7 separate regions of the Homo sapiens genome follow, and all the other regions are linked to region 1. The links are contacts of gene promoters, found by promoter capture Hi-C in human tissues and cell types (Jung and others, 2019). All regions are on one chromosome and are shown on one strand. Each heading gives the region's core, a stretch centred on a gene start or on the middle of the fragment in contact. The rest is flanking DNA. Distances are from core to core; before and after follow the strand shown. Region 1 holds the start of EFNA2 (ephrin A2). Region 2 overlaps ONECUT3 (one cut homeobox 3). Region 3 holds the start of ONECUT3 (one cut homeobox 3). Region 4 has its middle 26 kb from the start of ONECUT3. Region 5 holds the start of R3HDM4 (R3H domain containing 4). Region 6 overlaps TCF3 (transcription factor 3). Region 7 holds the start of WDR18 (WD repeat domain 18).

What was found. Contacts are between HindIII fragments. The study calls those that stand out against the background at their distance.
Region 2: a contact is called between a fragment that was not itself captured here and the fragment with the promoter of EFNA2 in region 1, in 2 of the 25 tissues and cell types used here (aorta and spleen).
Region 3: a contact is called between the fragment with the promoter of ONECUT3 here and the fragment with the promoter of EFNA2 in region 1, in 2 of the 25 tissues and cell types used here (lymphoblastoid cells and small bowel).
Region 4: a contact is called between a fragment that was not itself captured here and the fragment with the promoter of EFNA2 in region 1, in 1 of the 25 tissues and cell types used here (aorta).
Region 5: a contact is called between the fragment with the promoter of R3HDM4 here and the fragment with the promoter of EFNA2 in region 1, in 3 of the 25 tissues and cell types used here (dorsolateral prefrontal cortex, lymphoblastoid cells and spleen).
Region 6: a contact is called between a fragment that was not itself captured here and the fragment with the promoter of EFNA2 in region 1, in 1 of the 25 tissues and cell types used here (dorsolateral prefrontal cortex).
Region 7: the fragment with the promoter of WDR18 here is called in contact with the fragment with the promoter of EFNA2 in region 1 in 2 of the 25 tissues and cell types used here (dorsolateral prefrontal cortex and spleen).

What each region holds. Positions count from the first base shown.
Region 1 is chr19:1,283,915-1,287,384 of GRCh38, forward strand. EFNA2 (ephrin A2) reads left to right here and starts at 1,959. Exons shown (of 4, transcript NM_001405.4): 1 at 1,959-2,394. The coding sequence starts at 2,255. RefSeq lists enhancers at 1,043-1,543, 1,544-2,044. The HindIII fragment of the contact is 32,397 bases long and covers 1-3,470 here.
Region 2 is chr19:1,778,522-1,781,991 of GRCh38, forward strand. ONECUT3 (one cut homeobox 3) reads left to right here. Exons shown (of 2, transcript NM_001080488.2): 2 at 1-2,467. Among named protein-coding and RNA genes, the nearest start is that of ONECUT3, 27 kb to the left of the region's middle. The HindIII fragment of the contact is 3,194 bases long and covers 1-3,122 here.
Region 3 is chr19:1,751,678-1,755,147 of GRCh38, forward strand. It overlaps ONECUT3 (one cut homeobox 3), which reads left to right and starts at 1,829. Exons shown (of 2, transcript NM_001080488.2): 1 at 1,829-3,177. The coding sequence starts at 1,986. The HindIII fragment of the contact is 24,245 bases long and covers 1-3,470 here.
Region 4 is chr19:1,725,913-1,729,382 of GRCh38, forward strand. No RefSeq gene overlaps it. Among named protein-coding and RNA genes, the nearest start is that of ONECUT3, 26 kb to the right of the region's middle. RefSeq lists an enhancer at 1-37. The HindIII fragment of the contact is 4,306 bases long and covers 1-3,470 here.
Region 5 is chr19:911,500-914,969 of GRCh38, forward strand. R3HDM4 (R3H domain containing 4) reads right to left here and starts at 1,720. Exons shown (of 8, transcript NM_138774.4): 1 at 1,588-1,720. The coding sequence starts at 1,658. RefSeq lists a silencer at 1,538-1,877. The HindIII fragment of the contact is 36,901 bases long and covers 1-3,470 here.
Region 6 is chr19:1,605,840-1,609,309 of GRCh38, forward strand. It overlaps TCF3 (transcription factor 3), which reads right to left. Exons shown (of 19, transcript NM_003200.5): 19 at 3,453-3,470. Among named protein-coding and RNA genes, the nearest start is that of UQCR11, 2.1 kb to the left of the region's middle. RefSeq lists enhancers at 1-123, 579-1,200, 2,683-2,732, 2,763-2,832. The HindIII fragment of the contact is 3,073 bases long and covers 1-3,055 here.
Region 7 is chr19:982,843-986,312 of GRCh38, forward strand. WDR18 (WD repeat domain 18) reads left to right here and starts at 1,503. Exons shown (of 10, transcript NM_024100.4): 1 at 1,503-1,721; 2 at 3,023-3,133. The coding sequence starts at 1,512. RefSeq lists silencers at 1-158, 1,323-1,412 and enhancers at 1,097-2,038, 1,463-1,612, 1,643-1,822. The HindIII fragment of the contact is 34,067 bases long and covers 1-3,470 here.

The DNA of each region.
Region 1 (3,470 bases), core at 709-3,208:
GAGACCCCCTCCTCCCGACCCTGGCCCACCCCTCCTCACCCACGAGATCCCTTGAAGCAGGAGGGGGCTTCTGGTCCCAGGGTAGAAGGAAGCTTCCAGAACTCCCACCTTTGCCAGGTGGCATGCTGGGGCCGGGCACGCCAAGACCCCAGGCTCACGGCCCCTTGTCCTGTGCTTGGGTGCAGCCGCCACACTCTGCTCCGAAAGTGCTCACCTCCGGGAGTGGCCGTCCCCCTCCCTAAAAGAGCCCCCCACCAGACGGAGCCGCCCGGGAAGCTTCTCCAGCCTGTCTGGGCTACAGAGCCTTGTGTGGCTAGAACCCAAGGCCCTCACTCCAGGGGTGCTGAGAGAGCCTGTCCAGAGGGCCTGCCTCAGCCACCACCTGGGACAGGTTCACGCCCTCCACTGAAGAGACACCCGGCCAGCCCTGGGCCTTCGACCTGGGACGTCTGTAGTGGGGTCAGGGGATGAGACCTGGAGCTCAGAACAGACGGGCTGAGCTCCCTGGAGGAGAGAGAACTGAGAACCTTGTCCTGGCAGGGACGCTAGAGCACTGGGTGGGACAGACCTTTCTGGAAGAGCAAGATTTTAACAGGAAGAAAAAGTGGAAGGACTTCCCAGCAGGACCCAGCCTGAACAAAGGTCAGGTGGTGTGGCCCGCGTGGCCCGCTGGGGAATCGGGGGAGGAGGGCACGCAGGAGACACAGGACAGAGCCCACCACGTCTCAGAGCTGTGGGACGGTGGTGGGTCCGGTCCCCACCCCACCTTGCTGGGGCACAGGTTAGCTTGCCCATCTCTGGGTTCACGGTCCCTGCCAGGAGTTTGGGTAATGCCTCACACAGGGACCTTCGGGTCCAAGGGCTGTTGGTGCTTGCCCTGCAGTTCCCTCTCCTGCACTGGGCCTGGTGAATGACACTAATTCAGAGACGTACAACACGATCTGGGCATCGCCAGCAAAGTCCAGCCAGCGTTTGATGACAGCCTACCCTCCACAAGCTCAGAGTCTGGTGAGGGAGGCTGTGGCATGAATAAGGGCAAAAACAGAGGGCAGGCCAGGTGCAGTGGCTCACGCCTGTAATCCTAGCACTTTGGGAAGCCCAGGTGGGAAGATCGCCTGAGCCCAGGAGTTCAAGACCAGCGTGGCCAACATGGCCAGACACTGTCTCTATAGATTGGAAAAAAGACAAAGCAGAGGCCAGGCCCCCAGTTCCCCACCTGTGTCAGCCTACCAGGAGGAGAAATCACTCGGCGTTCCCTGAACAGATCAGACCCCGGGTCTTTGCACAAGCTGTGCCCCCGGGCAGCGGCCCTCCCCTGCCTGCAGGATTCGTGCGTGGAGACTGATTTGCTGTCGGCCGGGGCTTCACTCTGGGCTTCTTGGATCCCATCCCCAGCTGCTCACACTCCACATCGGTCCACCTACTATGCTCCCGGCACCCTTAGGGCTGAGGTGTAGGGACTTACTCCATCCCCAGGGAACAGCGTGGGTCCGGAGAGGCGACTCCCAGGAGGGCCCCAGGGAGGTCGCAGCCCGAGCAGCTTTGGACTTTGGCCAGCGCCCCTCTGAAACTCTGCCCCGGCCCCCGCAGGGAGACTGGAGTTGGCCGAGCCCGATTTGGGACGCGTGCGTCGGGGTTGGTGAGGCTGCGGATAGCGCTGGAACCGGGCAGGTGAGAGGCCCGGGACCCAGGGCCGGGCCGGGTGGAGCGCGTGGGGGCGCGGGAGGCAGGGTGCGCCCCCGCCCCTCGGAGACCCCAGGCCGGGCCACGCGGATGCCGGCGGGGGGCGCGCAGAATCGGGGTCGCTGGGGGCAGGCCCCGGGGGACGAGCCTGAGACGGGGTGGGCCGGGGCAGGGGGCGGGCGCAGGCTGGAGACCCCCGCCCAGTCCCCGCGCGGCCGGGGCACGGCGGGAGGGGGCGCCCGCGGCCCTCCCGACGCTCGGGCGGGACAAAGGCCGGAGCCCGGGCCCCTCCCCGGCGGGTGCGGCGGCGGCGGCCCGCGCTCCGACAGTCCGCGCGGCCGGGTCCTGCGCCCGGGGCGACCCCGGCGCCCCGCCCCGCCGCCGCCTGACTTCTCGGCGCCCGAGGTCGCGCGCGCGGAGGCGGGGGCGGCCCGGGATCTCCAAGCGCCGCCGCGCCCTCCTCCCGCCCGCCCTCCGCCCGCCCGCTCGGCGGCGGCGGCGGCGGCGGAGGAGGCGGAGAAGGCTGGCAGGCGGCGGCCGGGAGAGCGAGCGCGGCGGCCGGACCGGGGCCATGGCGCCCGCGCAGCGCCCGCTGCTCCCGCTGCTGCTCCTGCTGTTACCGCTGCCGCCGCCGCCCTTCGCGCGCGCCGAGGACGCCGCCCGCGCCAACTCGGACCGCTACGCCGTCTACTGGAACCGCAGCAACCCCAGGTGAGCGCGGCCGCGCGCGGGGGGCGCCCGGGGACCCCCCAACGCCCCCCAAGCCGCGCCCGGCCTCGCGCCCCCGGAGCTCCGGGCGCCCCCCACGCGCGCGCCGCCGCCGGGATGCGGGCGCCCGGTTCCCGCGGGAGCCCCCCAGGGAGCTCCGGCCCCCCGGAGTTTGGGGGACTCGCCCTTTTCGCGCCTGCCTTCCCCGGGGCGCCCCATTGCCCTACGGACTGTGGGGACTCGCGCCCCACATCCCCCAGAGCGCCGACGTCTCCTGGAGTTTGGGGAACCCCTCTGGTACCCTCCGATGCCGGGTAGCCCCTGAGTTGCCTGCCTGGACTTGGGGGGACCCCTGATCCACCCGCTTCTCTGGGGAGCCCCCTCGGTTTCGCATTTGGTGGGGATCCCCGGGGACCTTGGCACCGGAGGTGGGGGACTGTGGCCCTCGAGGGATCTCTGGGTTCGTCCTGCCCGCAGGTCCCCAGATGAACTTGGGGAAGTTGGAGTGTCCCTCCCTCAGGACCCAGCATCTGCTTCACTCCAGGGGGCCAAGGGCCCAGCTTTGAAAGGAGACTGAGGGGCCGGGGAGCTGGGGGTCAGCCCCGGGAGGGGCAGTGGGATGGAGTCCTCTCTTGTCCTCTGGGCGCTGACCAGGAAACTGAGGTGCAGAGGGGATGAGGAGCTGGCTCAAGGTCATGCAAGGGGGGGACTTGGGGGCAGGACCCAGGTGGCCCAGTGCCCTGCCTGCCACGCCCGGCCGAGATGCCGCACCCGCCTGCTGCAGGCCCCCTTGTTTTGAACCAGGTCCGGGCCAGGCACAACGTGGGGGACAGGAGAAGCCCCCGTTGGTCAGAGCAAAAAAAGTTTGCCGGGGCCTGGCCATGGCCTGGACGTGGGTAGAACCCTCTGAACCATCCCAGGGTCTCCAAGACAGGAGCAGGCTGCAGCTTCCCTGGGGGTCCCGTGGGAGCCGGGGCTTTGGGGGTCCTGGGGCTCGGGAGGGAGTCAGCCCCAGCACTCAGGGTGTCACCGTCTTCCTAAGGCACACGGAGCTGCACATCGGGGGCTGAGGCGGCCCC
Region 2 (3,470 bases), core at 276-2,775, 490 kb after region 1:
CCTGGCGGGGTGCTGGGTCTCCTAGATGCCCTCTGCTTGGCCTTCAAGGCCCCAAGGGTAACACGCTAGGGGGCCTCCAGTTTTGTCCCCTGCTGGAAATTTAGGACTTGGCTTGGGATCGTTCTGGTTGTGGAATGTTTTAGCTATGCTGAACTGTGGTCAGATCAGGTCAAGCCTCTTGGTCACAGAAGTGGCCCAGCAGCACTTTGGGAGGCCGAGACAGGAGGATCGCTTGAGGCCAGGAGTTTGAGACCAGCCTGGGCAACACAGCAAGACCCCACTTCTACAAAAAAAAATAAATAAAGTGGCCCAGGACTCCTGGATCCTTTTCAGATATCTTCGTATCACACACACACACACACACACACACACACACACACACACACACACACCCCTACCTGTTTCCGGACCCCACCCCAAACTTGGCCAGACCCCCACAGAAGGCTCTATCCCCGACCTGCCCGCCGGCCCCTCAGGCCCTCTCCTGCCTCCCCGCATGCCCACTTGGCTGTCACATACCAAAGAGCATGCGTTCTCCATGCAGGGATCAACACCTCCAGCACAATTCCTTCGAGCCTTTGACAATTTTCTCTGAAATACCTCAAAATATTTAATGTATAGTTTATGTGATTAAAAAAAAATCCTTAGCTAGTTTTTGGAATACGTGACTTGAAGCTTTATACCGTTAAATTATAATTTTGCAGACGATGGCATGTCGTTTCTTTGACGAGTTCCGTGGGAGACGCATTGAATGTCAGGGCTGGAGACCAGAGGGAAAGTTAGAGGGAGCGTGATCGCGAGAGAGACTGCGGCAGAAAGGACCAGTGGCGTTTACAGATTTCTTATTTAAATGAGTCCTTTAGGAAAGAAAGGAAGAGAGAGAGAGAGCGAGCGCAAGAGAGAGAGAGAGGGAGAGAGAGGGAGAGGGAGAGAGAGAGGCAGAGGTATACCTTTCTGTTCTCTGGCTTGTTCTGTTTCTTGTTTTCTGGAGTCATGTCTTATAAGAGTATTTATTATTCTCTGTGTTCTGTGTTCAAATGTAATTTAAGAAAAAAAAAGGAAGAAAAATGCAAAAAAAAAAGACAAAATGGAATTTGAGTTGGTGCATGACTAATGTACTCTTTCTTGACGCTAATTGTAATAAAGTGGTCAGGGTGGGGGGCGGGGGGCGTGGCCCGGTTCCGTGTCGCATCTGTGTGTCTGGTGCCTGATCGGTGCTGTTCAGTGGTTTTTCGTTACTGTTTCTTTCCTCCTTTCTAAGGAACTGTGTCCAGCCGGGACAGGTGGACGGGGCCCCAGGTAGAGGGGGCGGGAACAGAGCCTCAGTAGCCGGGTCTCCTCCACCTGCCTGTCCATCTCCACCCGAGATGCCACCTGCCTGCCCCAGCCAGGCGGGAGCCACCGAGCGTCCCCCCCTCAGTTCCTGGTTCTTGGGGGCACTCTGGTGTCATCGATATCTTAGACCCCCCCAACCCCCCATCACCCGGTTGCTTTCACTCTAGCATGAATTCCCAAGTGTCTTGTTCAGAGGAGACAGACAATCAGCCTATTCTTGTCTTGTTGCCCAGGGTGGTGGGGGACGGGAGTGTGCCCCAACTTCCTGAGATCTGAAGGACCCTCCTGAGGGCCCCAACAGCAGGCACCAGCACCCCCTCCCCCCCCACCTCCACCCAGACAGCCTCGGCCTCCCTCCCTGGGCTGGGCATGAGTCCGCCTTTCTGTCCAGCCCGGGAGGCAGGGGGTGTACGCCTGCAGAGACCCCTCCCTCCCAGCCCACTTTCGGAGCCTACAGAACAGAGGACTCCCCAAAATCATCAAAGGGGGCTCTGGGACAATGTCCTCTGCCTCTGACTCCTCTTGTGCCATGAGGCCACGTCCCTGAGCCATCCCCAGATAGTCCCTGGAGGTGGAAAGGGGCACAGATGTGCCAGCTTGGGAACAGAGGCTGGAGGAGAGGGCGGCAGGGGAGAGATGAGAGGGGCCGCTTTTGGGACAGGCCCCAGTAGGGGGGGGCGGGGTAGCTAAACGGGGTGCTTCTCACCCCATAAAGCAGCAAGCCCTGGTCTGGAGGGCTGGGCCTGGGGCTGAGGGCTCAGCTGACCTCAAATCTGAAATGATGCCGGGGCCAGGATGCTCCTTGCACCAGCAGGAGCTTGGGCCATTTCACATTCTCTGCCCCAAGCGGTTTAAGCAAAATCAGGCCAGTAGACTCCTGGGGCTCCTCCTCGTGGCCCTGTCAGACCACGCAGGGGCTGGTTTTGGTGGAATGAGCTCAGCCGGGGGTGACGGAAGAGCCAGGAGGCCCTGCGGCCTTGAGTGTTTTGAATAGACTGGAACTGAGGGCTGCTTTCAGGGGAGACACCACTTGGACCCTCCAAAGTCCCCTCCCCTCCAGGGACAGGGGAGAGAAGCCCTTTTCCACCTTCACCCTTGGGCGACAGGCTTAAAAGCTAAAAAAAAAAAAAAATCTCGTCATTGTTAACCATTGCTGTGCTGGGTTTGTTGATTTGTTTTTCTTCAATAAATTATTTTCTAGTCACTCACCTGGGCGTGTGTGTTAGCTGACGGGTCGGGCACAGATAGGGGGCGGGAATGGAACTCGCCCACCTCGAGGCTGGGGAGGGAGGACCGGAGTGCAGGGAAGACGGACTTTGCTTCCACCCAGCTCGCCCCTCTCTGCTCTGAGTCCCGTCTTCTTCCTGGGCCAGTGGCCAGCTCTGAGCCTCCACAATCCACACAACTCCACCACCCACACAAGTCCACCACCCACAGGGAATGGTAAGAATCAGAAAGAGGCCAGGCGCGGTGGCTCACACCTGTAATCCCAGCACTTTGGGAGGCCAAGGCAGGCGGATCACGAGGTCAGGAGATCAAGACCATCCTGGCTAACACGGTGAAACCCCGTCTCTACTAAAAAATACAAAAAATTAGCCAGGCATGGTGGTGGGCGCCTGTATTCCCAGCTACTCAGGAGGCTGAGGCAGGAGAATGCTGTGAACCCGGAAGGTGGAGCTTGCAGTGAGCCGAGATCGCGCCACTGCACTCCAGCCTGGGCGACAGAGTGAGACTCCGTCTCAAAAAAAAAAAAAAAAAAAGAATCAGAAAGAAAAGCTTGGCGCCTTAGAAGGAAAAGCTTGGCGCCTTTGAGTCAACCAAGCCCCAAGATGCACACCTTGTCAGGACCTGCTTCTGTGACATCACTGCTCATTGCTTTCTGGAGTCTAAAGTGAACGGAGGCCCCAGTGAATGAAGGTGTATTTGAATGGGAGAAACCAGGGCTTCCCGATAGAGGAAGAAGCTAGATGGTACAAGAACTGGAATTTATAAACTTTCTTGGGAGGGGCCAGCTGTCAGGCAGCGGGGGAGCCACAGCTTTTAATAAGCAACTTTTGAGAGCAATGAAGCTTTACCCACATTATCTTACCCCAGCATGAAGAAGGAAAGTTTTCCCTGCAAATACCCGGCTGGAC
Region 3 (3,470 bases), core at 579-3,078, 470 kb after region 1:
ACCCTGGAACTGGAAAGTTTAGGGACCGACACTTCAGGGGGCAGGAGTTAGCACTTGGGCAGATGTAGGAATGAAGGGGGGAACTCTAGGGCCACCACCCCCCCACCTTGGGCCAGAGACACCCGGAAAAATTGTGATTTGACTTCCCCCTCTCTGGGGCTGAGAGAGGAGAGTATGCCTGGTAAATAACAGGCACTTACTAAATGCCGAGCCCTAAGCAGCGAGTACTAACAGGGGTCCCCTTCAGCCCTATCCCTCCCCAGGACTTGGATCAGGCCACCTCAGGCTGGGGGCCCAGATCATTCAGGCCCCCTCTCTCTCTGGCTGTTGTGGTCAGCATAGACTCACCTCCGGCTCCCAGCTGGGCAGGCTGGAGGGCACCCCCTCCCACACCAGAGAAGGGGAAACTGAGGCACAGAAAGGGCCCTATTCCAGAGCCAACCTAGTCTTGGTTCAGAAAATCGCATCTCCAATGTGTAGCCACGTCTACAGGGGCCAGGAAATCTGGATGCAGGTGCAAAGCTGGGGCCGGGGTTTGCCCAGAAGGTTTGCACCAAAGGGGAAGTGACAGCCTGACTGTGTCCTCCCCTCTTCCTTCAGCTTTGAGCCCTGATGCAACCCTCTGAGATGGGGGTAACTGGGGGCTCCCGCGAACCGACTGCCTGACCCATCCCCTTCCTCTTCTAGAAAGTGCACAAGCGTTACCCCGGGGGTGGGGGGGGCAGAGGCAACGGGGAAGCAGGAAGGGGCTGAGGCTGGTTTTGGACTCTGCACCGTAGCCTCTGGCCTACAAGACAGAGCATCCTCTAGATTCTGGTCTGGCCCCTCCAGATCCGCAGCCCTGACCTTACCCCACTGGCGGGATCTAGTCCCCTGGGGGTCTCTCTGATTATAGGAGCCCTTCCCCCATCTATCCCAGTTCCCAGGGGCCCCTGGGGCTCACCTGTCTCCAGGTGCTGAGAAAAAGGAGACCCCTGCCTCCCCCCACATTGAAGAGAAGCCCCAGGGACAAAGAGGAGTTTGCACCAGCGACGTCTCAGAAGACAGGGGATCCAGCCTCAGCCTCCGTGGGCTGGAGGGTGACAGGGGCTCTTAGTGGTCACCCCCAGGCTCCAGTGCCTCCAGCGGCCGCACTGTAAAAAGGCCCTGCAATTAGAAGGGGCCTTTGGCAACCCCGAGGCCGGGCAGCCCATTGTACAGTTGGGGAAACGGAGGCCCAGGTGCCCACACATGGGCAGAGGCTGACCCCTGGGGCGCACGGAGGCCCTGACCTAGCCTTAGGACCTCCCTTTTCCCCCACTTCCTCCACAAAGAGGTTGTGGGAAGGGGGCTGTGACTCCGTAGGTGTGAGTGGGAGTCGGGGGAAGCTGAGCTTGCAGTGGGGATCTAGCTCCTGGGGGTCTGTAGGGAACGGGGGGGGGGGGGGACACGTACATTACAGGCGACCGTCCAGCCACACTCCCAGAAACTCCCTGGAGATGGACTTGGGGGTGCCAGGCAGAAAGCCACATCTGGGACTCTGGAGAGAATCACACAGAGACGCGAAATCGGAGACTCTGGGTCGAGGCCCCCAGCCCCACCTGGGCAGAGTCTGTCCTCGGACCCCCGCCCGCTGTCCCCCGGGTACGGCCTGCCCCAGCGGGCGCGGGCGGGCGCAGTGGCCAGGGACGCCGAAGCCCCAAGTCTGGCCGACTTCGGCCTGCTTGGTGCTCGAGTGGGGCCGGGGCGGGCGGAGAGCGAGGCTGCGGGAGGCAGCGGTGGCAGGAGCGGGTGGGCGGGGGCGCTGACGTCAGACCCGGGCCCGGGCGCCGGCGGCCGCTCCCCTGCCACATCCTGGTGGCCGCGCTCGCAGCCGGGCCGGGCCGTGCGCCGCGCAGCCTGGCAGCCTCGCGCGCAGCCACCGGGGAGCGGGCGGGAGTCATGCAGCGGCCTTGAGCACTAGGGGCCGGCGCTGAGGAGCGCGCGCGGCGGGAGGGCAGCCGAGCATGGAGCTGAGCCTGGAGAGCCTGGGGGGCCTGCACAGCGTGGCCCACGCGCAGGCGGGCGAGCTGCTGAGCCCGGGCCACGCGCGCTCGGCGGCGGCGCAGCACCGCGGCCTGGTGGCGCCCGGGCGCCCGGGCCTGGTGGCCGGCATGGCGAGCCTGCTGGACGGCGGCGGCGGCGGCGGCGGTGGGGGCGCCGGGGGCGCGGGCGGCGCGGGCAGCGCGGGCGGCGGCGCGGACTTCCGCGGGGAACTGGCGGGCCCGCTGCACCCGGCAATGGGCATGGCCTGCGAGGCGCCGGGCCTGGGCGGCACCTACACGACGCTCACGCCCCTGCAGCACCTGCCGCCGCTCGCGGCCGTGGCCGACAAGTTCCACCAGCACGCGGCGGCCGCGGCCGTGGCCGGGGCGCACGGCGGCCATCCCCACGCGCACCCGCACCCGGCGGCCGCGCCGCCCCCGCCACCCCCGCCGCAGCGTCTGGCGGCCAGCGTGAGCGGCAGCTTCACCCTCATGCGCGACGAGCGGGCGGCGCTCGCCTCCGTGGGCCACCTCTACGGACCCTACGGCAAGGAGCTGCCCGCCATGGGGTCGCCGCTGTCGCCGCTGCCCAACGCGCTGCCGCCCGCGCTGCACGGCGCCCCGCAGCCCCCGCCGCCGCCACCACCCCCGCCGCTGGCCGCCTACGGCCCGCCAGGCCACCTGGCTGGGGACAAGCTGCTGCCGCCCGCCGCCTTCGAGCCGCACGCCGCGCTGCTGGGACGCGCGGAGGACGCACTGGCCCGCGGGCTGCCCGGAGGCGGCGGCGGCACAGGCAGCGGCGGAGCGGGCAGCGGGAGCGCCGCGGGGCTGCTGGCGCCGCTGGGCGGGCTGGCGGCGGCCGGGGCGCACGGGCCGCACGGGGGAGGCGGCGGCCCCGGCGGGAGCGGCGGCGGCCCCAGCGCGGGCGCAGCGGCCGAGGAGATCAACACCAAGGAGGTGGCGCAGCGCATCACGGCGGAGCTGAAGCGCTACAGCATCCCGCAGGCAATCTTCGCGCAGCGGATCCTGTGTCGCTCTCAGGGCACGCTCTCCGACCTGCTGCGCAACCCCAAGCCGTGGAGCAAGCTCAAATCCGGCCGCGAGACCTTCCGCAGGATGTGGAAGTGGCTGCAGGAGCCAGAGTTCCAGCGCATGTCGGCGCTGCGCTTGGCAGGTAGGAGCGTGGCGCGCAGGGCCAGACCCTGGGGGCGCCGGCTCTGGACTCCCGAGCACCTAGCGGGGCGGCGGCCGATGCCCGGGGCCAGCGCCCCAAGCCCCGCCCGTGCGCCCCGGCAGCCCGGGACCCCCTATCAGGAAGCTAGACCGCGATCCGCGCCGCTGCCCGTTTGTACCGTTGCCAAAAGGGAGAAAGGGATTGTGCCGCCTCCCCGCCCCCCGGTCGCCGCTTCTGCCCCTTTCGGGAGCGCGTAGGGGTTCTCTAGTCCTTGTTAGACTGCTGGGAGGCTC
Region 4 (3,470 bases), core at 371-2,870, 440 kb after region 1:
TCCGGGCGCGGGTCGATGCCGCCTCGCATCTGACCTTTCCCGGCGCGGGGAGGGGGCCCGAGAGGATGGAGAGAGCTGGACCATCTTGGAAGAAAACTTTATTGACCCGTCTCTTATCTTGGGGACGCACGGTTCCAGCGGCGGGGGGCGAGGGTACGGCTGGGTGGGGGCAGGGGCGGCCAGGACCTTCCTCCCGGACATGCACGGACCCCCTGACCGCCGCCCCGGCCATCTCCCTGGGCGGGCTGCTCTCCATTCCCTAGACAGGAAAATTGAGGCTCACGAGGGCCCGGGGATTACCCAAGGCGCAAAGGGTTTATGAGGTGCAAGGGGCCTGGAGCCCAGAGAGTGTGGCTCGAGGGCTTCAGACTCTCTCTGCCACGCCGTGCTGACATCTGCACCCTCCAAGCAAAGCTAAAACATCTTCCCGCGTTGCTGGGTCCCACACCGTCGCAGCCTGGAACCCACCACCCCATAAGGAGGGACCGTTCCTTAAATTGAAATGCGATGTTGAACAGCCACGAAAAAGGACGAAATCGTGTCCTTTACAGCAACATACGTGCAGCTGGAGGCCATTATCCTAAGCGAATGAAAGCAGAAACAGAAAACCAAGTACCCATGTTCTCGCTTATCAGTGGAGGCTAAACATTGGGTACTCATGGACACGAGGATGGGAATAATAGACCCTGAGGACTTCTAAATCGGGGAAGGTGGGGGACAGGGGCTGAGAAACTCCTGGGTACCATGCTTAGCACCTGGATGACGACGGGATCGGTCATATCCCAAACCTCAGCATCACACCATATACCCATGGAACAAACCCGCATATGTACTCCTGAATCTAAAATTAAAAAGATGAAATTTCAAAATAGTAATAGGAAGGGGCCAGGCGCGGTGGCTCACGCCTGTAATCCCAGCACTTTGGGAGGTCAAGGCAGTGGATTCCTTGAGGTCAGGAGTTCCAGACCAGCCTGGCCGACTTGGAGAAACCCCGTCTCTACTAAAAGTACAAAAATTAGCCGGGCATGGTGGTGAATGCCTGTAGTCCCAGCTACTCGGGAGGCTGAGGCAGGAGAATCGCTTGAACCCAGCAGACGGAGGTTGCAGTGAGCTGAGATCGCACCACTGCACTCCTGCCTGAGCGACAGAGCAAGACTCTGCCTACAAAAATTAATTAAAAATAATAATAATAGGCCAGGTGTGGTGTGGCTCACGCCTGTAATCCCAGCACTTTGGGAGACCGAGACAGGAGTATCGCTTGAGCCTAGCAGTTCCAGACTAGCCTGGACAACAGAGCGAGACCCCATCTCTAAAAAATAATATATATATTTTTTTGAGATGGAGTTTAGCTTTGTCGCCCAGGCTGGAGTGCAGTGGTGCGATCTTGGCTCACTGCAACCTCCACCTCCTGGGTTCAAGCAATTATCCTGCCTCAGCCTCCCAAGTAGCTGGGACTACAGGCACGCACCACCATGTCCCACTAATTTTTGTATTTTTAGTAGAGACGGAGTTTGGCCATATTGGCCAGGCTGGTCTCAAACTCCTGGCCTCAAGTGATCCTCCAACCTCAGCCTCCCAAAGTGCTGGGATTACAGGCGTGAGCCACTGCGCCCAGCCTAAAAAATAATAATAATTTAAAAATAATAAATGCAATGTTGAAATTAAAAGGCTTAGGAACAGTGTGAGATCTTCATGTCCAAACGAAACTCCCATTACACAGAGGCCCTGTGAGGGGAAGCCCCAAGTCAAGGTCACAGACTTGAGAAAAGCTTATGGTTATTTTGAAGGGGATATGGGTAGTGCCCTAAACATTCCAATTTAGTAAAAAAAAAAAAAAAAAAAATCGCAAATCCCCCAACAACCACTTGGGCTCATTCAAATGAACACCTGGACTTTGTCAAAAGAAGAGTTATTGTCAGAATAAAGACGCTGCTTATAAAATGCTAGGGTTCCCTGTGTGGAGCCAAGAAGATTTCTTCTTTCTTTAAGGGTGAAAAACAAGATTGGCTTATTTGACAGATCTGTGCATTTTTTTTTTTTTGAGACGGAGTCTCGTTCTGTTGTCCAGACTAGTGTGCAGTGGTGTGATCTCTGCTCACTGCAACCTCCACCTCCCGTGTACAAGCGATTCTCCTGCCTCAACCTCCTAAGTAGCTGGGATTACGGGCACATGCCACCACACCTGGCTAATTTCTGTATTTTTAGTAGAGACAGGGTTTTGCCATGTTAGTCAGTATGGTCTCGAACTCCTGACCTCATGATCCGCTCACTTTGGCCTCCCAAAGTGCTGGGATTACAGGCATGAGCCACCGCGCCTGGCCGTAAATGTTTTAATATTTAGCACGCATGATGCTTTTGATATACGTGCCATGCCAAGTCCAGGGCTCAGAGATTTGTTTAAAGGTCTCCATTAATCCCACATGTACCCCAAATCGCTGTGGTTTTAGAAAAGAAAACCTTCTGTGCAACTCCGTAACCACCTTAAAGGAAATACAAAAGGAGAAAATCGCTGGCCGTAGCCTTCTCCACCCCCTAAACTCAGCCCTGGCCACTTTGCTCAGGCCTCCCAGCTTCTGTGTCCTGCACGTAAGCCTCGGTCTTCACACAGTCCCTGATATCTGCATTTATTTCATATTTTTCCCATAACGTTCCACCTGACATCTCCATCTCCTTCCTCTGCCGCTGCGTTTCTAATTCCTAACAGCTGAGGAAGGTTGCATTGACCGGCGGATTGTGTGGGGTGATTTTTGAAAGCAGATCCTGGAATTCAATTTTTATTTTAACCTGGTTATTGAGTGGGGAGGGAGAGGGAGGCGGAGGTTGGCCGATTCGTGTGCAAGATGAAAAAGCTGGATTTTCACAAAGGTTGTGCTGTTTGGAAATGGCTGGTTAGGTTTTCAACGTAGGAATGGTTCAACGACAGCCCTACGAGAGTGTGCGCGAGCGTGCGTGGCTCCGTGTGGTTTCGTGTGTGTGTGTGTGTAAGTGAGCTGCAGGGTGTGTGGACAAGTGTGTTGTGTGAATGTGCATGTGTGGGTTCGTGTGTGCTCCTGTGTGTTCCCGTGTGTGCATGTTGTGTTCCTGCATGTACATGTGTGGCTTCGTGTGTGTGCGTGTGTGGTTTTGTGTGTGTGCATGTGTGTGCGCCTGTGCGTGTTCGTGTGTGTTTGTGTGTGTGCATGCGTGTGAGAGGGTGCACTCAGCGGCTGTGCCTTTGTACACGTGTGAATGTGGGTGTGAGTGTGTAAGTGCTTTGTGTGAGCATGTGGGGGGAAGGACGCAGAGGCACGCCAGCGTCTGACTGTGTGTATTGTTAAGAGTGTTGTGGGGTACACGTGTGTATGTGAGCTCGTGAGGGTGTGCAAGGGATACACGCGTGTTGTGTGTATATGTGTATGTGCATGTGTGTGTGCAGGTGTGTACATATTAGTATGTGCAGATCAGTGCATACCTACGTGTGTGTTCCTGTG
Region 5 (3,470 bases), core at 470-2,969, 370 kb before region 1:
ACAACGGACACTCCTGTTTGCTGGGCCCGCCGCAGTGCCAGCTCGGTAACCCCCACCACTCGGAGAAGAGGCCACACTTACTATCCCATTTTACAGAAGGGGAAACTGAGGCATGGAAGCATGAAATAACCTGCCCAGGTGGCGCCGTCCGCACACGGAGGAGGCAGGAACGGAACACGCGCCGCCTCCTCGCCCTCCACCAACACGGACCCCAGGGGCGCACCCTGGGTCCCCGGGTCCCTGTGCGGGCCGGGGTGACACACGGCTGACCCCCGCACAGACCGCCCCGCTTCCGGGTCCCCCGGGAAGGACGCGCGGGCTCCTGCTTGCCAGGTTTTAACCCACAAGGGTTGTAGGGATTTACCCAAAGGAGAGCAAGGAGCCGGGTCTGCCCGGAAAGGCAGGGGGCGCGGACAAGCCCAGAGGGCGAGTGGGGCCGGGCGTGCGGCAGGGACCAGGCTGGAGCGCATGGCCACGTGGGTGAACCCCGACCCGCGGACAGGGGCCCAGGACCCTCTGGCGGGAGGCTCCATGGCTGGCACCTCGGGGCCCGGGGAGTGGGGGGGCAGACCCGGGAGTGGGGGCGCGGCCCCGGGGAGGTGGGGGGGGGGGTGGACCAGGGAGTTGGGGGGCGGACTGGGGAGGTGGGGGGACGGACCCGGGAGTGTGGGGGGCGGACCAGGGAGTTGGGGGACTGACCGGGGAGTGGGGGGACAGACCCGGGAGTGGGGGCGCGGCCCCGGGGAGGTGGGGGGGGTGGACCAGGGAGTTGGGGGGCGGACTGGGGAGTGGGGGGACAGACCCGGGAGTCGGGGCGTGGGCCAGGGCAGTGGGGGGGTCGGACAGAGGAGTTGGGGGGCGGGCCCGGGAGTGGGGGCGCGGACCCGGGAGTGGGGGCGAAGACCAGAGAGTAGGGGCACGGACCAGGGAGTTGGGGGGTGGAACCGAGGAGTTGGGGGGCTGACCCGAGGAGTTGCGGGGCGGACCCAGGAATGGGGGCAAGAACCAGGGGAGTGGGGGGGTGGAGCAGGGAGTGGGGGGACGGACCCAGGAGTGGGGGCGTGGATCAGGGCAGTGGGGGGGCGCGGACCCGGGAGTGGGGGGAGTCGGACCCGGGAAGTGGGGGCGCGGACCGGAGAGTGGGGGCACGGACCGAGGAGTTGGGGGGCGGACCCGGAGAGTGAGGGGGTGGACCCGGGAATGGAGGCGCGGACCAGTGCAGTGGGGGGGCGGACCGGGGAGTGGGGCGCGGACCGGGGATTAGGGGGCGGACCGGGGAGTAGGGGGCGGAACAGGTAAATGGGGACGTGGATCCGGGTCCCCTCCCCCAGCGAGCCCCCGGAGCGCCAGGAGGGTGTCCCCGCTGAGTAACAATGAAGACCCCCCACCCAGCCTGGGGGTCCACAGCGGGCGAGAAGGGAAGGCAGGACAGGCTGAAGCCCCGGAAGATGAGCAACGGGAGCGAGGGGAACGAAGGGAACGAGGGGAGGGAAGGGAAAGGAGGGGAGGGGAGGCGGGGAGAGGATCTCAGGGGAGGGAGCCCAGCCCGCCCCCGGCGCCCGCCGCGCCCCGCCCGCCCGCGCTCACAGCAGCCGCCGCCCGCCCGGGGTGCCCTCCGCCGCCTCCGGGCCGCACTCGGGGTTCTCCAGCGCGACCATGGCTCGCACGCTGTCGCCGCCGCCGCCGCCCGGCAGGGCCTTCACCGGGCCGGGCAGGAAGTGACGGGCGCCCGGAGGCGGGCAGGGGCGGGGCCTGGGGCTGCGCGGCGGGGCGGGGGCGCCCACCTCCCGGCTGCCGGGAACGAACGCGGAAACCCAGGCGCGCGGGGAGGGGATCCAGCCCCTGGGGGGACGAACGGGGAAACCGAGGCGCGCGGGGCGGGGATCCAGCCAACAGGGAACGAACGGGGAAACCGAGGCAGGCGGGGCCGGGATCCAGCCATCAGGGAACGAACGGGGAAACCGAGGCAGGCGGGGCCGGGATCCAGCCCCTGGGGGGACGAACGGGGAGACTGAGGCGGGAGGCGGGGCCGGCCACGATCCCTACACCCAGAAATCTAGCTCCGGGAAGGAGGGACACCTAGGCGAGGGGTCGAAAACTCAACCACAACCCTGCGTCCCGATCCGGGCTGCGGACTGAGCCAGGAATCCAGCCCAGGGAGGCGAGGAGACACGGACAGGGAAACTAAGGCCTGAGCATCGACGAGGGAGGGGACGTTCTTCTTGGAGGCAGAGGATGGCGGAAATTAAAACTGCCCGAGCCTTCCTTCCACCTGCCCCTCCCAGCCCTGGAGCCTCGGCTAGGCAACCCCTTCCCCTGCTTAGCCTCAGTTTACTCTTCTCTAAAATTAGGCCTGGTGGCCAACGTGGTGGCTCACGCCTGTAATCCCAGCACTTTGGGAAGCCAAGGCCAGTGGATCACTTGAGTCCAGGTGTCTGAGACTAGCTTGGGCAACATGATGAAAACCCATCTCTAAAATAAAAAGAAAGGGCCGGGCGCGGTGGCTCACACCTGTAATCCCAGCACTTTGGGAGGCCGAGGTGGGCGGATCACGAGGACAGGAGATCGAGACCATCCTGGCTAACACAGTGAAACCCCCTCTCTACTAAAAATACAAAAAATTAGCCGGGCGTGGTGGCGGGGGCCTGTAGTCCCAGCTACTCGGGAGGCTGAGGCAGGAGAATGGCGTGAACCCGGGAGGCGGAGCTTGCAGTGAGCCGAGATCGTGCCACTGCACTCCAGTCTGGGCGAGGAGCGAGACTCCATCTCAAAAAAATAAAATAAAATAAAATAAAGCAAGAGGGAGGCTGGGCACGGTGGCTCGCACCTGTAATACCAGCACTTTGAGAGGCCAAGGCCAGTGGATCACTTGAGGTCAGGAGTTTGAGACCAGCCTGGCCAACATGGCAAAACCCTATCTCTACTAAAACTACAAAAATTAGCCGGGCGTGGTGGTATGCACCCATAGTCCCAGCTACATGGGAGGCTGAGGCACAAGAATCGCTTGAACATGGGAGGCAAAAGTTGCAGGGAGCCGTCCACTTCACTCCAGCCTGGGCCACAGAGTAAGACTACTCTGTCTCAAAAAAAAAAAAAAAAAAAAAAAAAATAGCCAGGCACAGTGGCTCACGCCTGTAATCCCAGCACTCTGGGAGGCCGAGGCGGGTGGATCATGAGGTCAGGAGATTGTGACCATCCTGGCTAACACGGTGAAACCCCATCTCTACCAAAAATACAAAAAATTAGCCGGGCATGGTGGCAGGCGCCTGTAGTTCCTGCTACTCAGGAGGCTGAGGCAGGAGAATGGAGTGAACCCAGGAGGCAGAGCTTGCAGTGAGCCGAGATTGTGCCATTGCACTCCAGCCTGGGCGACAGAGCGAGATGCTGTCTCAAAAAAAAAAAGCAAGAAAGAAAGAAAAAGAAAGAAAGAGTAAGGAGGAAAAAGAAAAGGATGAGAAACTGTGGATGGA
Region 6 (3,470 bases), core at 269-2,768, 320 kb after region 1:
TGATTCGCTGTAGGACTTTGGTCGAGCGGCAGTGCTTCCCTGAGCCTCAGCGTTGCCCGTTGCTTGGAGGCCCTGTCGGAAATCTCTTTGCAGGATTCCGTTTGCGAGCCTGGGTTATTCCTCATTCCGGCAGCAGAGGGTGGCCTGGCTCCTTGCTCGGTGAACGTCTCTGGATGCTCTTAGCTGATGACAGGCAGGTCTTTCTGCCTCCTGCTTTCCACCGCACCAGGCTCGCTTGGGCTCGCCTTTCTCCAGTCCCTGCTTCCTCTGCTCTCCCACAACCCGGCGCAGCACCGTACATGCTCACTCAGCTCCCAGCTTCCAGCCTCCCCCCTGCACACCGGGCCGGTGTGGGCAGAAGGAAGAGGGGCATATTCCCAGACACCGCCATTGCACTTTTGTGCCTTTTCCCCCATATTCAAGAGTTGCCTCCCTCAGGAAGCCCTCCTGGACTGCCTGACCCACAGGCACCTTTACAGCATGAACGGAAAGGCCATAGCCTAGACGGGGCACTGGGCGTGATTTGTCTCTCGGGCGCCAGCGTCACTTGCAGGCCTCGTGATAAGGAATGGACACCGTGGGTTCTTCTGCCCAGCCTGGCCTGTCCTCCTGGGGTCAGCCCCTCAGTACACCCCAAGCCTGCAGCTCTCTGGGGACTGCGGGTGCTAACCCATCCCTATCCCTGGTTAAGGACTCAGGGTGGGAGCCGGAAATAGGTTTTGGACACCACAGTCTGGGCACTGTTTTTCTTTCTTTTTTTTTTTGAGACGGAGTCTCGCTCTGTGGCCCAGGCTGGAGTGCAATGACACGATCTCGGCTCACTGCAACCTCCGCTTCCCGGGTTCAAGCTTCTCCTGCCTCAGCCTCCCAAGTAGCTGGGACTACAGGCGTGAGCCACCACACCTGGCTAGTTTTTGTATTTTTAGTAGAGATGGGGTTTGGCCATGTTGGCCAGGCTTGTCTTGAATTCCTGACCTCAAGTGATCCGCCTCCCAAAATGCTGGGATTACAGGTGTAAGCCACCGGGCCCGGCCCTGGGCATTGTTTGTAGAACTTTCCAGTTGGCTTGGGGTTTTTGAGCTTGGGATCAGAGAGCACCTGAATAAGACTCTTCCCATTGGTGGAAACTTAAAAAAGTGGGATGCAGGGGCTGACACAGAGACTATTAAGAGAAAGGACAGGAACACAAGGGCTGCTGGAATGTCAGCCCAGAGTTTCCAGATGCCACAATGTAAGAGTTCACCAGTGGCCGGGCACGGTGGCTCACGCCTATAATCCCAGCACTTTGGGAGGTTGAGGCGGGCAGATCACCTGAGACTGGGAGTTCGAGACCAGCGTGACCAACATGGAGAAACCCCATCTCTACTAAAAATACAAAATTAACCGGACATGGTGACGGATGCCTGTAATTCCAGCTACTCGGGAGGCTGAGGCAGGAAAATTGCTTGAAAACCCGGGAGGCAGAGGTTGCGGTGAGCCGAGATCACGCCATTGCACTGCAGCCTGGGCAACAAGAGTGAAACTCCGTCTCAAAACAAACAGACAAAAAAAAGAGTTCATCAGAGACAGTGACATAAACAAGAGCTGAGAGATGGAGAGAGATTTGTAATGACACCTGGATCCAGCTGTGCCTGAAGCCATTCAACATGACATAGAACTTCCTTTTTGTTTCTTGAGCCGGTTTTTGTTATTTTGTTGGACCATCTGGATGTCCCCTCCACCCTTTTTTTTTGAAACGGAGTCTTGCTGTCGCCCAGGCTGCAGGCTGGAGTGTAGTGGTATGATCTTGGCTCACTGCAAGCTCCGCCTCCCAGGTTCACGCCATTCTCCTGCCTCAGCCTACCGAGTAGCTGGGACTACAGGTGCCCGCCACCACGCCTGGCTAATTTTTTGTATTTTTAGTAGAGATGGGGTTTCACCGTTAGCCAGGATGGTCTCGATCTCCTGACCTCGTGATCCGCCCGCCTTGGCCTCCCAAAGTGCTGGGATTACAGGCATGAGCCACTGCACCTGGCCCACCCTTTTTTTTTGACAGGTTCTGGCTCTGTTGCCCAGGCTGGAGTGCAGTGGTGCAATCACAGTTCACTGCCACCTCAAGCGATCCTCCCACCTGAACCTCCTAAGTAGCTGGGACTACAAGTGTGTGTCACCAGGTACAACCAATTTAATTTTGATTTTTTGAGACAGTCTCGCTCTGTCGCCCAGGCTAGAGTGCAGTGGTGCAATCTCAGCTCACTGCAATCCCTGCCTCCTGGGTTCAAGCTATTCTCCTGCCTCAGCCTCCCAAATAGCTGGGATTACAGGCTTGCGCCACCATGCCCGGCTAATTTTTGTATTTTTAGTAGAGATGGGATTTCGCCATGTTGGCCAGGCCGGTCTCGAACTCCTGACCTCAAGTGATCCACCCGCCACAGCCTCCCAAAGTGCTGGGATGACAGGCGTTAGCCACCGCGCCCGGCCAATGTATATTTTAAAAGTTGTTTTCCAGCATGAATTTAGAGGCCAGCTGGGTAGAGTGGTGGACAGGGCTCCCTCAGCACCTTCTGTCAACTCCTGGCCACTCTCTTTCCCTTAAAAATTATAGACATGGGGTCTCACTATGTTGCCCAGGCTGGACTGGAACTCCTGGCCTCAGGCGATCCTCCCGCCTCAGCCACCTGAAGTGCTGGGATTACAGATATGAGTCACTGTGCTGAGCCTTCTCCTCCCTAAGGCACTTGTGTGCCAAAGGGCTCTCTCCTGGGGGCCACCCCCCGTCAAGTGGCCAGGAAGGCACTCCTTCCACCCCAACCCTGTAGGGGAGCAGGGCAGTCCAGCTGTGTCCTCGCAGAGATGCAGCGGCCAAGTCCCTGGGCACAGCAGCAGATGCCTGCCAGTGGGCACTTTGGGATGAGCAGCGCCCCCACAGGTCCTGCCACACCCCTTCCCCCCGAGAGCTCTGTCCGTGGGTTCCGTGGGCATCCGGTTGTGGAGGAAGTCACAGATGCCGCACTAAGGAGTGTGGGGTTGACGCTGCCAGCAACGGAGCCGTGGAAGGTTTCAGAGGAGCAGTGACAGACTCAGACTTCGAGCCGACTTCGGAGCAGGAAGGGGCAGGGAAGTGGGTTCCAACAGCCCGGGGGGGGGACGTTGGGAGATGGGGAGCCCTCCCAGATGGGGGCTGGGAGGACCGCAGGTCCTGGATGGTTCCTACGCGCCCAAGTGCAGCCCCCAGGGAGCTGCTTTTCCCCGGGAGCCAATCCTGCTTCCAGGTGGCCTGGAGCCCTGAGTACACATGCAGGTTCCCAGCCGCCCTGGGAGCCATGGGCTCCTCAGAGTGAGGAGTCGCTTCGAGGAAGCCCAGTGCACAGGGTGGACCACGGTCCTTGCTGCACCCGAGGTGAACGTCAGGGCCCCCCCCCACTTCCCTTCCTAAACATGTGACACCAGAAAGAACCCGGGGACTGCAGGGCATCGTTATAAAATGTCAC
Region 7 (3,470 bases), core at 253-2,752, 300 kb before region 1:
CCTCTGGCCTGGGCTCGGGGTCGGTGGCTCGCGCCTGCCACCTGGCGGCCAGCGGGGCTGCGGCGCCGCACGCTCTGGCACCAGCCTCCTGCCCCGGCCGTGCCCTCCGCCGGGAGCCGCGGACCAGGAGTCGCACCGCCTCCGGGGACCGCACCCCGCATGCAGCCTCCAGCCCCTGCCTCTTGCTGCTCGAGGGCACACGACCCAGGTCAGCTGCAACCCCCGGGCGGAAATCCCGACTTTTAAATGAATGCTCCCTTTTTATCCCTTTTTAAGGGGTTGGCAACTAATTGCACATTTTAAATCATACTGTTTTTAGGCCGGACGTTGTGGCTGAAGCCTGTAATCCCAGCGGTTTAAGAGGCCAAGGCCTAAGCCCAGGTGTTGGAGACCAGCCTGAGCAACACAGTGAGACCCCCCATCTCTACTAGATATATATTTAGTATAAATAAATAATAGATATATGTTTTTCTTTGAGACAGAGTCTCATTCGCCCAGGCTGGAGTGCCTGGGATCTCGGCTCACTGAGACCTCCGCCTCCCGGGTTCAAGCGATTCTCCTGCCTCAGCCTCCCACCACGCCCGGCTTTTTGTACTTTTTGTAAAGACGGGGTTTCGCCATGTTGGCCAGGGTAGTCTCGAACTCCTGATCTCAGGTAATCCACCCACCTCGGCCTCCCAAAGTGCTGGGATTACAGGCCTGAGCCAAAGCGCCCGGCCTTTTTTTTTTTTTGAATGCCGTTTTCAGACATGGTCCGTGACGGGCAGCCGTGACATGAAGTTAGACCCTGCTTGGCTCGGACAGAACTGGCGACTTGTTTGACCTACACCAAGCTATCCGACTAATAATTTAGATGTTGAGGCCCCTAAAGAGGGGTCAAGGGGGAGGCAGATGTCGACCAATAAGGAAACACTGGGCCGGGCGCGGTGGCTCACGCCTGTAATCCCAGCACTTTGGCAGGCCGAGCTGGGAGGATCACTTGAGCTCAGGAGTTCGAGGCCAGCCTGGGCAGGACAGTGAGACCCTGGCTCTACAAAACTAAATAAATAAGGAAGCAGTGAATTCCAATGTATTCATCGCCAACTAGCCATGTTGCTGGGTGTGCGCTCTCTCTTTTAGGCGCAATGTGTCATTTAGGCCTGTGACGTCGGAACTTTATTATTTGAACATTTAAAAATAAATGAATCCAAGAGCTTGAGTCACTTGGCCAAAAATGCCCAGGAGGAAAAGGCCAAGTCAGGTACCCCGGCTCTAGAGCTACTAACTGATCGCCGGAGACCCTGGGCCTTGGAAGAAGTCGCCTCCCCAGATCTCTAAGCAGGCCGCGCGACCCTCGAGTCTCAGGTAAGCGGGAAATCCCACTTCACAAGAAAGCCCCTCTCTCCGAGGCACGGGCGCATGCGCGGGTCGGCCACCCGCTGGGGCCGCGGGGCCGCCGCTCTGGCCCGCGTGGGGCAGTCGTCCGCGTCTCGCTCATGATGACGCACGTCCGGGGCGGTGGGGAAGGCAAGATGGCGGCGCCCATGGAGGTGGCCGTGTGTACGGACTCGGCGGCCCCGATGTGGAGCTGCATCGTGTGGGAACTTCACTCGGGCGCCAACCTGCTCACCTACCGCGGCGGCCAGGCGGGACCCCGCGGCCTGGCGCTGCTCAATGGCGAGTATCTGCTGGCGGCGCAGCTGGGCAAGAATTACATCAGCGCCTGGGAGCTCCAGCGGAAGGTGCGGCGGTGCGGTCTCGCTGCTGGGGTCATGGGGCGCCCGAGGCTGAAGTCGGGGGATGGGTTGGTGGGGGCCGCGTGCACCCTTAGTCGGAATTGGCGTGGGGAGGGGAGGTGGTCTCCGTTCGGGCGCTCTGCGCATGCGCGGGTCTGGGGGCTTTGGGGAGATACGTGCGACCTGTTAGGCCGCTCTGCGCACGCGCGGGGCTCAGGCCTGAGCTGCTATGGGGGCAGTGGGGGAAAATGGGAGACGCTCCGGGGGGTCCCTTGGGGCAATTGCGCATGCACGAGTTCTTGGAGCGCGAAATTTGATTAAAAGGGGCCTATGAGCTCTGTGGATGTTGTGGTTCTGGAGGAAAAGGGAGAAGGACCAAGGTCTGGGGGAGTCTCCCATGAAGGGGTGGCGCAGGAAACTCATGTTTATTCCTCCAATAAAGCAACAGATACTCACCGTCGCCCACAGTTTCCCCTCTACTCCCAAGCCCAAATGCAGCCAGTCCCTGAAGCTACTCGCTTCCCCCGTGTGCCCGCTGAGATCTCTTGGGACTGGCTCTGTGCTCCAGCATTGCCTGATGGAGTCTACACACAACTCATAAATTTCTCCCATTTTATTTTAGTTTTGAGACAGGGTCTCACTCTGTCGCTGAGGCTGGAGTGCAGTGGTGCGATCTCGGCTCACTGCAGCCTCTGCCTCTAGGGTTCAAGCGATTCTCGGGCCTCAGCCTCCTGAGTAGCTGCAACTACAGGCCCGCACCAACCACCACACCCGGCCCACATTTGTATTTTTTGTAGAGGCAGGGTTTCACCATGTTGGCCAGGCTGGTCTCGAACTCCTGACCTCAAGTGATCTGCCCACCTCAGCCTCCCAAAGTGCTGGGATTACAGCCGTGAGCCACCACGCCCGGCTGAGTTTTCCCATTTTAGAGAGGAGGAAGCTGAGGCTTGGGGTCTTAGGTTGGACATTATGGATAGAAGGATTGGGGCACAAGCCTACTGGGCTCTTGGGCCCCAGTGTCCTTCTGGATCCTCTTTGTTCTGTTCCTGTACTCCTCCCACCCAGGGCCCCTCTGACCCTCAGAGGAAGCACCAACCTCACATCTACCACCTCCAGCCTCGAAGCCTCTTGCAGGGGCGAACACTTCCTTGCTGGACCATGCATTTGCTCAAACCACCCTGCTCCCGACTCCTCTTCCTGGTTCTCTGACTTAGCCATTGCCCAGGCGTCCCCTCCCCTCGCCCTCCACTGCTGTAGTAGCTCCCGTGTCCTGCATGGGGCTCACGAGGCTGACTGTGCATCCTTAGGACCAGCTCCAGCAGAAGATCATGTGCCCCGGGCCTGTCACCTGTCTGACTGCATCACCCAATGGTCTCTACGTCCTGGCAGGAGTTGCAGAAAGCATCCACCTGTGGGAGGTAAGAGGAGCAAAGCGTGAGCGTTTCCCACAGGACATCTCAGCCCATCTGAGCTTTGCCTGCAGGGCACCAGGGAACAACCATGCGGCCTGGGGCCCTGGGATGGGTGACTGCTCAGGGGTTATAGCCTAAGCTTCACCCTGCTGCCTCCTTTCTCCAGGTCCCCTCGAGACTTGCGAATCCCAGACCAGCCCTAATCCTGCCTTGAGTGCTTGGATAGAGCCCGGTGCAGCCCAGTCCCCGGCACTCACACACCGCAGCATCTTCCAGGGCTAGCGGGCATCTCTTCCACGCAGGCGGCAGCGCCTGGCACTTGTGACTTGAAAGTTATAAAGGG